2 separate regions of the Homo sapiens genome follow, and region 2 is linked to region 1. The links are contacts of gene promoters, found by promoter capture Hi-C in human tissues and cell types (Jung and others, 2019). All regions are on one chromosome and are shown on one strand. Each heading gives the region's core, a stretch centred on a gene start or on the middle of the fragment in contact. The rest is flanking DNA. Distances are from core to core; before and after follow the strand shown. Region 1 holds the start of SEC61A1 (SEC61 translocon subunit alpha 1). Region 2 has its middle 35 kb from the start of RAB7A.

Region 1 (5,858 bases), core at 939-3,438:
CACTTCTAGGCAGGCACTGAGTCAGCATTCCTGGCCCTCTGGCCAGAACTGGAGTCACAGTCCTCTAACTATACATGCAGGCAAAGTAGGACACAGTCATACGGCCACACAACAGTGGGTGAATCAGTGTTCAGATACTCCATCCAAAGCTGGGGGCATTCACAGGACTCTTCTTCTCTTGAGAATGGTCCTCTTCCCACCTACCATCCCACCACACTAAGAAATTAGAAAGTGGCCAAGAGAAGGCAACGCCATTTCAGAGTAACCTGTCTGAAATGAATCTTGATGGGAAACAAAGAGCAGACAATTTTTTCAAAACTCCCTTTCTAATCACCAAGTCCTCTCTCCTGGTTACAATCAAATTTAACATCAAAACCCCAAAAGCTCTTTATCCAAGTCCTGTCTCCTCTGCTTCTTAGTAGCCCCTAAATCCATTCTTGCTCAGTACCACAGTTCATCCTCTGATGTGAAAAGCCTCTAAACCAACTCTAGTCCTCTCCTTTTCTTCCAAAGTGACATTCTCATGTCTGGCCCTTGTTATTCATCTCCTAATGTTCCCCACCTACAATTATGTTCTATCAATAGCAACTACATCTAATAACCTCCCATCCAAACATGCTACACTCTTGTCACCAATGCCTTTGCAAACTATATACTCCTTTTATTTGGAATTCCTTTCCGTCCCTTCAAGGAGACTTCTATTTCTCCTTCAAAACCACCATAAGACATCATGTCTCCCAGAGTTAATCCCTTCCTGAGCCACTGCTATACCTTGCACGTATTTCCCTTGTTCCGTCTACCACACTGAGTTACAAGGCCAAGGTCACATAGCTATTAAGGTGCTATGTAAAGGGTGGGACCTAGGCTTGCCTGCCTCCAGAGCCATGCCCCTTCGCTACACTGGAATTGAGGGGGTAAAGCTTTACAAATTCGTCCATTAAAAGCAGCACATGGGCATTTATATGAAACTATTTTACGTAAAAAAATGAAAGTGGATTCCAAGCACCCAAGTGTCCATGTGAATGCTTTAACAACAGTTTGAAAAATAATGTGAGGACACAAACATTTTATTCCCCACTCTCTAACCTAGGAACCTAATGAAACTTTTTTTCGTTGACAGCTGTAGTTACACTGGCAACACTCACTCCACACAATTTCTGATTCAGCACAGCTCTAAATTTAATCTTTCCTTGTTTTAATACACCGTCTGTGAAAAGCAGCAGACTTCACAAAAGAATAGCCTTTATTCCCCCTATTGTGACAGCCTACATAAAAGGTACAAAATCATTTGTAAATACTAAAGTGACAGCCCTTCCCTTTAGCAGCTGGATACAAAGGGCATCTCCTGGGAAAAAAAACCAACCCGTGATCTGCTCCCGTTGGAGGTGAAAAAGGGAGGGTAACTCAATCTGCTATCCTAACTGAGGCCTTATTCATTCATGGCCCGGATCCATTTTTGGGACAGGGCAACCGGAGGCTTTGTTCTCGGAGCAACATCCACCAAAGATGCTCCAAATAAAGCACAGTGATTTCAGTGGAAATTTCCACACAACCAGGTCACCTTTCGACAGCTCTCCGGAATAACAGAGCACAACTACACTCCAAGGGAAGAGAAGGGAGAGTTTCCATTGCCGTGCTGAAGCCATTTTTAATCATACTGTAAACTTCCAGAGTCCAGACAGTTTCCTGAAACCTTCTTTGTTGGCGATTTGGGGTACTTACCTTCCTCTCTGGCTTCTGAATTTCCGGCAGGATGACACAGAAGGGCTTGATGACTTCCAGAAATTTGACTTTGATGGGAGAAACAAAACAGGAAGAGTTGGGACACAGAGAAGTAACCTTCCGCGCTACCCAGGGACGCCTTCTGCCCACGACGAGTGAGAGCAGGGGCCAGGGGAGCCGGCCGCACCCCGGACGCGTGGGGATACTCGAGAAGGGCCGGGGGCACGGGCCGCGTTCTGCAGGGGGCCGGTCAGGGTTGGCCGGCGGGCGCCCGACCGCACGGGTGTGGGGAAGGGGGATCTGTTCCGTCCCGGCCTCAATAGGGCTTCCCTACAGGACTCACTTGCCATGGCGGCGGCTGCTCGGGCTCCGGGTCCCGCTTCAGCTCAGCTCTGCTCCGCGTGAGGCGACGCTGCCCGCGGCCCAGCGCGTTCCACTGCACAGCAGCTCCGCCGAGAGACACGTCAGTGCTAGCCCGGCGGCAAGCGGCGCGGCGCGGCGCGGGGCGGGGCCGGGGCCGGGCCTCGGATCGCTTCCGCTTCCTGCCACGCGCGCCCGCCGGCCGCCGCGCTTCGCCGCGCCGCGCCGCTTCGCCGAGACCTCAAGCCCCGGCATGCAGCGGGGCTCCTGGGGCCTGTCGGGAAGGGGCCTGGCGCGCGGGGCCCGCCGGGACTGGGGGTGTGCGGCTGCGCAGACTTGGTAACGCGAGAGCGCGCGGGGAGGGTGTGTCACGCCTCCCGAGACTGGGGCTGTGCGGCCTCACGGAGAAACTGAGGCAGGCGCGAAGCGTCGAGTGCGCGCGTGGCCCTGCAGGCAGGCGGAGACCCTGGTGGCTCCCATACACGTAACAGCACTCACTGCTCTTTGACGTTAGTGAATAGACCGTAAGCTCCCTGGAGCAGGGACCTTATCCCAGCGTCTACCGCGGCGCCCGTCACCTAGTAGGTCTCCGTCATTACCTGCTGAGTAGGGCGCGGGCTGGTGGGGCTTACCGAGCACCCTCGCTGTCTGAGTCATTAAGCAAACCCGGAGGCTTGTCGTGGGTGTGGGTCCCCTTCCATCTGAGAACGAATGGGATGAGTTTCTGGAGAGACTTGGCCGGAGAAGGGCCGGGGCAGCTCGGGAAGTAGTCTGCCTCACAGAAGAATTCAGGAAGGCCTCCTGGGAGAGTACCTTTGTGCCGAGCCTTGATAGATTCTGGCGAGAAGGAATGAGGGAACAGGTTGAGGAGACTGTTGTGGGCAAAGCATGGCGGTGTGATTGCCTAAGATCGGTGTGGGAAAGGGGGATAACGGGTAGGGCAAGGGATGCTGGGGCTGGGGGTTGGAATTTACTTTCAGGCATCTGTAGTCAGTAGGTATGATGTCATCTAAGAGAAACAGACTTAATGCTGTGAGCATTTAGCAGGGAGGAGGTGGGCACGCCTTGTGGGATCAGGCAAGGTTTCATGGAGCTAAACCTTGACCAGGACAGGTAGAAGTTGAGGGTACATATGTGGCAAGATGCTTTTTTGCTTTTAATTTAGGTGTCAACTATTTGGATTTTTCCATTCTCACCCATTTCTAGCAGATAATCAGGTTTTGTACATTCTTGGCTCAGAAAGTTGGACAGGACAGGAAGTCTTTTTTGGAATACAAACCCACTGGTGGAAAATTCAAAGGACTACTGGGAACAGGCAGGTAACTTCAGTGAAGTGGTCTAGGTGTGACATCACTTGATATCCATCCCCCACCAAAAAGGGGAAAAAGAAGACATTGACTCTTTATTCAGAGTCTGAAATGCAACCCATCTTCACTTCCAGGACCCACTGATGATCTCTTCTGGAGTTTTGGCCTGAAGCTAAAACTGGCAGCCCCTGGACTAAGTTCAGCATATAGACTAGATCCGATATTTAGCCATTATGCACCCTGCACCATATTGATGGTTAAAATGTTGAAATATTTCGAGGGTAAATAGTATAGTAATTACAATAAATATTACAATTAGTTAATAGAAATTTTAATATAAACTCATTGGTTTGTGCTAATAGTTGTAGGATGTCAGTACCATTGATAACAGGCCTCCTGTTGTTTCCACATTATGACACAATCTGGCCTGTGTCACTGCAGGGACTGCAGCCAAGTTACGTGTGTTAAATCACTGATTGCTTTAGGAGAATCACTAGTTTAAAATATTTTTATTGGACTGGGTGCAGTGGCTCACACCAGTAATCCCAGCACTTCGGGAGGCCAAGGCAAGAGGATCACTTGAGCCCAGGAGTGCAAGACCAGCCTGGGCAACATGGCAAAACCCTGTCTCTAGAAAAAAATACAGAAAAAAATTAGCTAGGCATGGTGGCGCATGCCTGTAGTCCCAGCTACTGGAAAGGCTGAGGTGGGAGGATCCCTTGAGCCTGGGAGGTCGAGGCTGCAGTGAGCTGAGATCTCACCACTGCACTTCAGCCTGGGTGACGACAGAGTGAGACTCTGTCTCAAAAAATAATAAAATATTTCTATTGTAAGCACATACATTAATTCTTCGGAAAATAGGTATGCAGTGTTTTATATTTATACATTTAAGATTTTATTATAGGATATTAGAAACATCCACCTAGAATGAAAGAGACCACAAAAATCTGGATGAATTTTCAATACTTTTAAGTATGATAAATGTAAATCTTGATATCTGCAGAAGAATAAACAAGAAATTTGTAATAATAATGAATCCCCGCCTGGAACTTCTTTTGATACTGTTTAAGAATCAGCACAAAATAAAATTTATAATTTATAAGATAAACTTTATTACATAAAATCTATAGTTTTGTAGTGAAAAAATAATTTTTTTCAACCAAAAATTTGACATTGCTAGTGACAGAAATGTTGGGTACTGAGTGCTCAGAAGTTCTATTGTTAAAAGATCAAAGTGTTAAACATATATTCATCAGAATGCTCTTAAAGCTTGTGCAAGTGAAGAAAAATTGTGATTATCGATGAGAAAAGAACTTAAAAGAATATAATCAGTTTCATAAATTAAGTATTTGAAAACTTAGAACTCCCAAAAAGGTTATCAGAGTGAGGATAAAGCAATCAAAAAGATTTAGGGCCAAGCTTGGTGGCTCATGAAATCCCAGCACTTTGGGAAGCCAAGGTGGGCAGATCACTTGAGGCCAGGAGTTCGAGACCAGCCTGGCCAACATGGTGAAATCTCGCCTCTACTAAAAATAAAAAATTAGCTGAGCATGGTGGTGCGTGCCTGTAGTCCCAACTACTCAGGAGGCTGAGACATGAGAATGGCTAGAACCCTGGGGGGTGGAGGTTGCAGTAAACCGAGATCTCATCACTGCACTCCAGCCTGGGCAACAGAGCGAGACTCTGTCTCAAAAAAAAAAAAAAAAAAAAAAAAAGATTTAGAAGGTACTGTCAGAATTTTTAGCACTATTATATAGTTAAGTATAATTGAGCATTTCACACACATTTACTAGAACTTCAAAAGGATTAATATTGATATGAACACGCCATTGTATTCTGGACCCACCTGTTAAAAACCAGATGTACCCAAATGAGAAAACAGCTTTTTGAAAAATATGTAAATCAAAGAGGTGTATTTAAAATCATCATCTAAGAAGCTTCATTTTTTTATGTGAATGTGTTTTAATAATTAAAATGCAAATTTAAAGGTTTTTGAATATAATGGTTTTTGTTGATCTTATGACACTGGGAAACATTTAGTACACTGTATTGTCTTTATTATGAGTACACAAGAAAGAATTACATTTGAGATATAGTTCCATAAAGATGTAATTGGAATATTGTACCAAATAAGAAAATTGTCATTGGATTTTATACAAAAAATGCTAATGTAATTCTAGAGAGAGTATGGAGTTTCAGCCAAAAGTTTAGGAAAAATGTGGATGTTTTAATTTGGCACTAAATTATCAAATTTAATTTTGGATAAACCAATACAAGTCAGGGAACTCATGCTTTTCTTGATAAACTATATTTACTACCACACACCAAGTAGCAGAAATAACTACATTAAGTAATGCAAATTGAACCTTGATGGACAAGCCTGCAGTGCTAGATCTGCAAAAGCAATGTGGAAGTCGGTAAGTTCTGCATTCAAATGCTCTACCCCTGAGCTATATACCCGCTGTGGTG
Region 2 (5,858 bases), core at 1,817-4,316, 640 kb before region 1:
GGAATTTCCTGGGTGACAGGAGCGGAGCTCTTTTGTTCTAATGAGGGAACTCTTGGCAGATCCCTGATATCCTCAGGATTGGAGCTGGTTGACAAGGGAACCAACCTGTGATTAGATGGTTGGAACTTTCAGCAGCCCCCTGACTTTGGGGAGGAGAGAGAAGCTGAAGGCTGAGTTGATCACCAAAGGCCAATGATTTAGTCAGTTGTGTAGGTCATGAAGCCTCCCTAAAAACCCAAAAGGACAGGGTTCAGAAGAGCTTCCCAACAGCTGAGCACAGGCAGATTCCTGGAGAGGGGCATGCCTAGAGAAGGCATAGAAACTCTGTGCATCTTCCCCACACCTCTTCCTGGGCATCTCGTCCATCTGGCTGTTCATCTGTTTTTTTGTTTGTTTGTTTGCTTGCTTGTGACAGAGTCTCACTCTGTTGCCCAGGCTGCAGTGCAGTGGCACAATTTTGCCTCACCACAACCCCTACCTCCCAGGTTCAAGCGATTCTCATGCCTCAGCCTCCTGAGTAGCTGGGACTACAGGCACATGCCACCATGCCCAGCTAATTTTTATGTTTTTAGTAGAGACGGGGTTTTGCCATGTTGGCCAGGCTGATCTCCAACTCCTGACCTCAGGTGATCTGCCTGCCTCGCTCAGCCTCCCAAAGTGCTGGGATTACAGTGTTCATCTGTATTCTTTGTAATATCCTTTATAAGAAACCAGTATACATCAGTAAGTGGTTCCCTGAGTCTTGTGAGCCACACTAGCCAATTAAATAAATCCTGGGAGCCCCAGTTTATAGCCAATTGGTCAGAAGCACAGACCACGACCCGTGCTTGCAGCATCTGAAGTGGGGGGCAGCCTTGTGGGACTAGAGCCCTCAACCTGTGGGATCTGACACTATCTCCAGGTAGATGGTGTCAGAACTGAACTGGAGGACACCCAGCTGATGTCTACTGGGGAATCCGCAGAATCGATGTTTGGTGTGTGGGGAAATAACCCCCGCATATCTGCTGTTGGCAGTGTTGAGTGACTGGGTAAGAGTAGGAAAAATCACTTAGGTTTGTTCCTCTATCTCACACAGATATTAAGTATGTTCAGATTGCTGTGCAACCCTTGCTTATTTTGAAAATGGGTTTTCTGTTGTTGAGTTTTAGGAGTTCTGCATGCATTCTGGATATTAATCTCTTATCAGATATATGATTCACAAATATTTTCTCCTATTCTGTGTGTTGTGTCAAAAACACAATTTCAACACATTGAGTTTTAAAGATTTGGCTAGATGTGGTATCTCATGCTTGTAATCTCCTTACTTTGGGAGGCCGGGGTGGGGGGATCACCAGAGCCTAGGAGTTTAAGGTTACAGTGAGCTAGGATTGCACTACTGCACTGTAGCCTGGGTGACAGAGCAAGACACTGTCTGTAAAAAAAATAAAGATCTAATTAGCTTTTATTGGTGATTCATGAACTGAGCAACATCCAGCCTACAAAATAGACAGGAGCTCTACCAGGCATGGCAGAGCAGTAGGTTTTTCTAAGGCAGGCAGCTTGACCAGGAACAAGGAAACAGCATAGTGGAAAAAGTGGATTGGTTGGCTGGGCGCGGTGGCTCATGCCTGTAATCCCAGCACTTTGGGAGGCCAAGGAGGGCAGATCACGAGGTCAGGAGATCGAGACCATCCTGGCTAACATGGTGAAACCCCGTCTCTACTAAAAATACAAAAAAAATGAGCCGGGCTTGGTGGCGGGCGCCTGTAGTCCCAGCTACTTGGGAGGCTGAGGCAGGAGAATGGCGTGAACCCGGAAGGCGGAGGTTGCAGTGAGCCGAGATTGCGCCACTGCACTCCAGCCTGGGCTACAGAGCGAGACTCCATCTCAAAAAAAAAAAAAAAGTGGATTGGTTAACATTAGGTTCCTTCGGGTTACTTTCCTTGCATGGCTTAAAGCAGAGGGGACTTCCTTATCAAGCAGCTTAGGTTGAATGGGCCCCTTTTGATTGGTTGCTGTGAATCTATTTTTTTGTAAAACTGACCTATTGGGGATTTGACTGTTGCCTCTCTCCTGATTTCTCAGAAGGTCAGATTTTTTTTTTTTTTTTTAGACAAGAGTTTTGCTCTGTTGCGCAGGCTGGAGTCCAGTGGCACGATCTCAGCTCACGGCAACGTTTGCCTCCTGGGTTCATGCAATTCTCCTGCCTCAGCCTCCCAAGTAGCTGGGATTACAGACATGCACTACCACACCCAGCTAATTTTTGTATTTTTAGTAGAGATGGGGTTTCACCATGTTGGTCAGGCTGGTCTCGAACTCCTGACCTCAAGTGATCCACCCGCCTCGGCCTCCCAAAGTGCTGGGATTACAGGCGTGAGCCACCACGCCCAGCCCTAAGGTCAGATCTTATAAGCAAACAGCTTAGGTTTCAGTTTGGTGACATGGAACCTTAGCATGAGTGACTCCATTTTGGGTCAGCCTGTAGGGGCCTAGTGTAGGAGGAGCTCAGTACAAATCAATGGCCTCCATTTGGCCAGGCACTGTGGCTCACACCTGTAATTCTAGCACTTTCAGGGGCCGAGGTGGGAGGATCCCTTGAGCTCAGGAGTTCAACAATAGCCTGGGCAGTATGATGAAACCTCTTCTCTACAAAAAAATAGTAGTCCCAATTACCGGGGAGGATGAAGTGGTAAGATCGCTTGAGCCCAGGAGGTCAAGACTGCAGTAAGTCATGATGGCATCGCTACACGCCAGCCTGGGCAACAGAGTGAGACCGTGTCTCATAAAACAAACAAACAAAAAAACCAAATCAATGGCCTCCCATAAATATACCAGAACCCTTTGTTTTTCTTTGATGCTGTTCAGGCTCAGAAAATGATACCCCAAAGTATGCTGCTTTAGCATGCTGAGTGCTTTGAACTAAAGGAGACTGAAAGGTTCCAGAAGCAAAGTCTCTCTCTGACCTTCTCCTGCCCTCCTATCTCCCATCCCTCTTTCTCCACTGAAGTGAGAATCAGAACCCTTCTTCCCAAGGCAGGTTGTAGTAACTAGAATCCCACTCCCCCAGAGCTAGCCACAAAACCTAGAAAAGTTACTCTGTCTAGGCTGGGCACGGTGGCTCATTCCTGTAATCCCAGCACTTTGGGAGGCCGAGATGGGCGGATCACCTGAAGTCAGGAGTTCGACACCACCCTGGCCAACATGGTGAAACCCCGTCTCTACTAAAAATACAAAAAAAAAAAAAAAAAAAAAAAGTTGGGCGTGGTGGCACACGCCTGTAGTCCCAGCTACTCAGGAGGCTGAGGCAGGGGAGGTTGAGGCAGGAGAATTGCTTGAACCCAGGAGGCAGAGGTTGCAGTGAGCTGAGATTATGCCACTGCACTCCAGCCTAGATGACAGAACAAGACTGTCTCAAAAAAAAAAAAAAAAGAAAGAAAAAAAAAGCGAGGTTACTCTCCTCTTCTCCCTTGAAGACCCTCATTCCAGAAGAGTCCTGCCGATACCTAGGGCAAAGAAATGCTACACTGAGAGACCAAGAAGAATTTGAACCTTACTGGGTTTCTTCCCCTCAGTGTATTACTATTAGATCACACCCTTTTTGTCCAATCATATTTCTACATGGCTGTCCATTCTTCATTCAACCTAAGCATACAAATAGTTTTCCCTTGGTCTTTAGGTCTTCATTTCCAGAAGCTCCTGTATTGTGTAAAATGTTGTAAATAAGTTTGTTATTATTTTCTCTTGTAATTCTGTCTTTTGTCATAGGCATGTTGGCCATGACCTTTATGATTGGTGAGGAAATGTATCAAAGCTTTCCAACCCTTCAATGCACAAAAGTTAATTTCAATGAGGTCTAATTTGTCTTTTTTTTTGAGACAGAGTCTCACTCTGTAGCCCAAGCTGGAGTGCAGTGATGCAATCTTGGCTCACTGCAACCTCCTCCTCCAGAGCTCAAGCGATTCTCGCCTTGGCCTCCTAAGTAGCTGGGACTACAGGAGCACGCCACCATTCCCAGCTAATTTTTCTGTATTTTTAGTAGAGATGGGGTTTCACCATGTTGCCATGGGTGGTCTCGAACTCCTGAGCCCAGGTGATTCACCCGCCTCAGCCTCCCAAAGTGCGTGAGCCACCACACCCGGCCCCAGTTTGTCTATTTTTCTTTTGTTGCCTGTGCCTGTGGTGTCATAGCCACAAAATCATCACCAAATCCAAAATCATGAAGCTTTCCCTCCATCCTTGCTTCTAAGATTTTTATAGTTTTAGCTCTTATATTTTTTTTTTTTCAGGCGGAGTCTTGCTCTGCTGCCCAGGCTGGAGTGCAGTGGCGCGATTTTGGCTCACTGCAACCTCGGCCTCCTGGGTTCAAGCGATTCTCCTGCCTCAGCCTCCCGAGTAGCTGGGATTATAGGCGCACATCACAACACCTGGCTATTTTTTTTCAGTAGAGACAGAGTTTCACCATGTTGGCCAGGCTGGTCTTGAACTCCTGACCTCAGGTGATCCACCGGCCTCGGCCTCCCATAGTGCTGGGATTACAGGCGTGAACCACCACGCCTAGCCAGCTCTTACTTTTATGTCTTTGAGAGTGTATTGTGTAGTGAAAACACCCTGTAAACCACATCTTTCCTCTACTCTCACATGACAACAATCATCAACATCAAGACTTCTGTGGCCAAATGTGTAGGGGGTTTTCCCCACACATCAAGCAGTGGACACCAGGTAGGTGTCCTCTAATTCAGTTCCGACACTATCTGATAGTGTCAGATCTCACAGGTTGATTGCTCATTCTCCAAGACCACCCTCTCCCCCAACACCAGTGGCAAGTCCAGACCAGAACTCCAGAATCTTTTTTTTTTTTTGAGATGGAGTCTTGCTCTGTCACCCAGGCTGGAGTGTGCAGTGGTGTGATCTCAGCTCACTGCAATCTCCGCCTCCCAGGTTCACGCTGTTCTCCTGCCTCAGCCTCCCGAGTAGCTGGAATTACAGGCGCCTGCCACCACGCCTGGCTAATTTTTGTATTTTTAGTAGAGACGGGGTTTCACCATGTTGGCCAGACTGGTCTCGATCTCCTGACCTCGTGATCTGTCCGCCTTGGCCTCCCAAAGTGCTGGGATTAGAGGTGTGAACCACCGCGCCCGGCCTATCTTGGATTTTTATGGAAGCTTCTTGCCATCAGCATTCCTTCCTCCTTCAGAGTATATATAAGGTGGGACCTTCTCATGGGAGGGTCTGAAGACCCACAATCAGAGAGGTGGAGAACATTAGAGTGGAAGGAGGGCAGGAGAAGGTCAGAGGCCTGCTGTGAGGCCTAACATACCCAGCATTGTAACAAAAGACTGTAACAAACGCTATAGAGTATGCGCCAGGAAACGTGGATCAGTATACATCAAAACACCACATATGTAGATTTTATAACTTATTTGAGTGGTCTTTAAGAAACCTAAATCCAGATATGTCACCCTCTGCTGAGAAGTTTGAAGTTTCTCATCTTTTAAAAATCACTATCCAGGCCAGGCGCAGTGGCTCACGCCTGTAATTCCAATGATTTAGGAGGCTGAGGTGGGAAGACTGTGTAAGCCCAGGAGTTGGAGACCAGCCTGGGCAACATAGTATGACCTCATCTCTAAAAAAAATTAAAACTAAATTTTAAAAAATCACTATCTTGGCCAGGCCTGGTGGCTCATGCCTATAATCCCAGCACTCTGGGAGGCTGACTGGGGCAGATCGCTTGAGCCGAGTTTGAGACCAGCCTGGGCAACATGGTGAAACCCCATCTCTTACTAAAAATACAGGCTGGGCGCAGTGGCTCATACCTGTAATCCCAGCACTTTGGGAGGCCGAGGCGGGTGGATCACAAGGTCAGGAGTTTGAGACCAGCC

What was found. Contacts are between HindIII fragments. The study calls those that stand out against the background at their distance.
Region 2: a fragment that was not itself captured here is called in contact with the fragment with the promoter of SEC61A1 in region 1 in 1 of the 25 tissues and cell types used here (dorsolateral prefrontal cortex).

What each region holds. Positions count from the first base shown.
Region 1 is chr3:128,048,767-128,054,624 of GRCh38, reverse strand. SEC61A1 (SEC61 translocon subunit alpha 1) reads right to left here and starts at 2,188. Exons shown (of 12, transcript NM_013336.4): 1 at 2,066-2,188; 2 at 1,723-1,790. The coding sequence starts at 2,072. It overlaps LOC102723759 (a long non-coding RNA gene), which reads left to right and starts at 2,450. Exons shown (of 4, transcript XR_007096073.1): 1 at 2,450-2,663. RefSeq lists a silencer at 1,875-2,514 and a cis regulatory region at 2,007-2,623. The HindIII fragment of the contact is 6,890 bases long and covers 1-5,067 here.
Region 2 is chr3:128,688,040-128,693,897 of GRCh38, reverse strand. No RefSeq gene overlaps it. Among named protein-coding and RNA genes, the nearest start is that of RAB7A, 35 kb to the left of the region's middle. The HindIII fragment of the contact is 7,361 bases long and covers 1-5,858 here.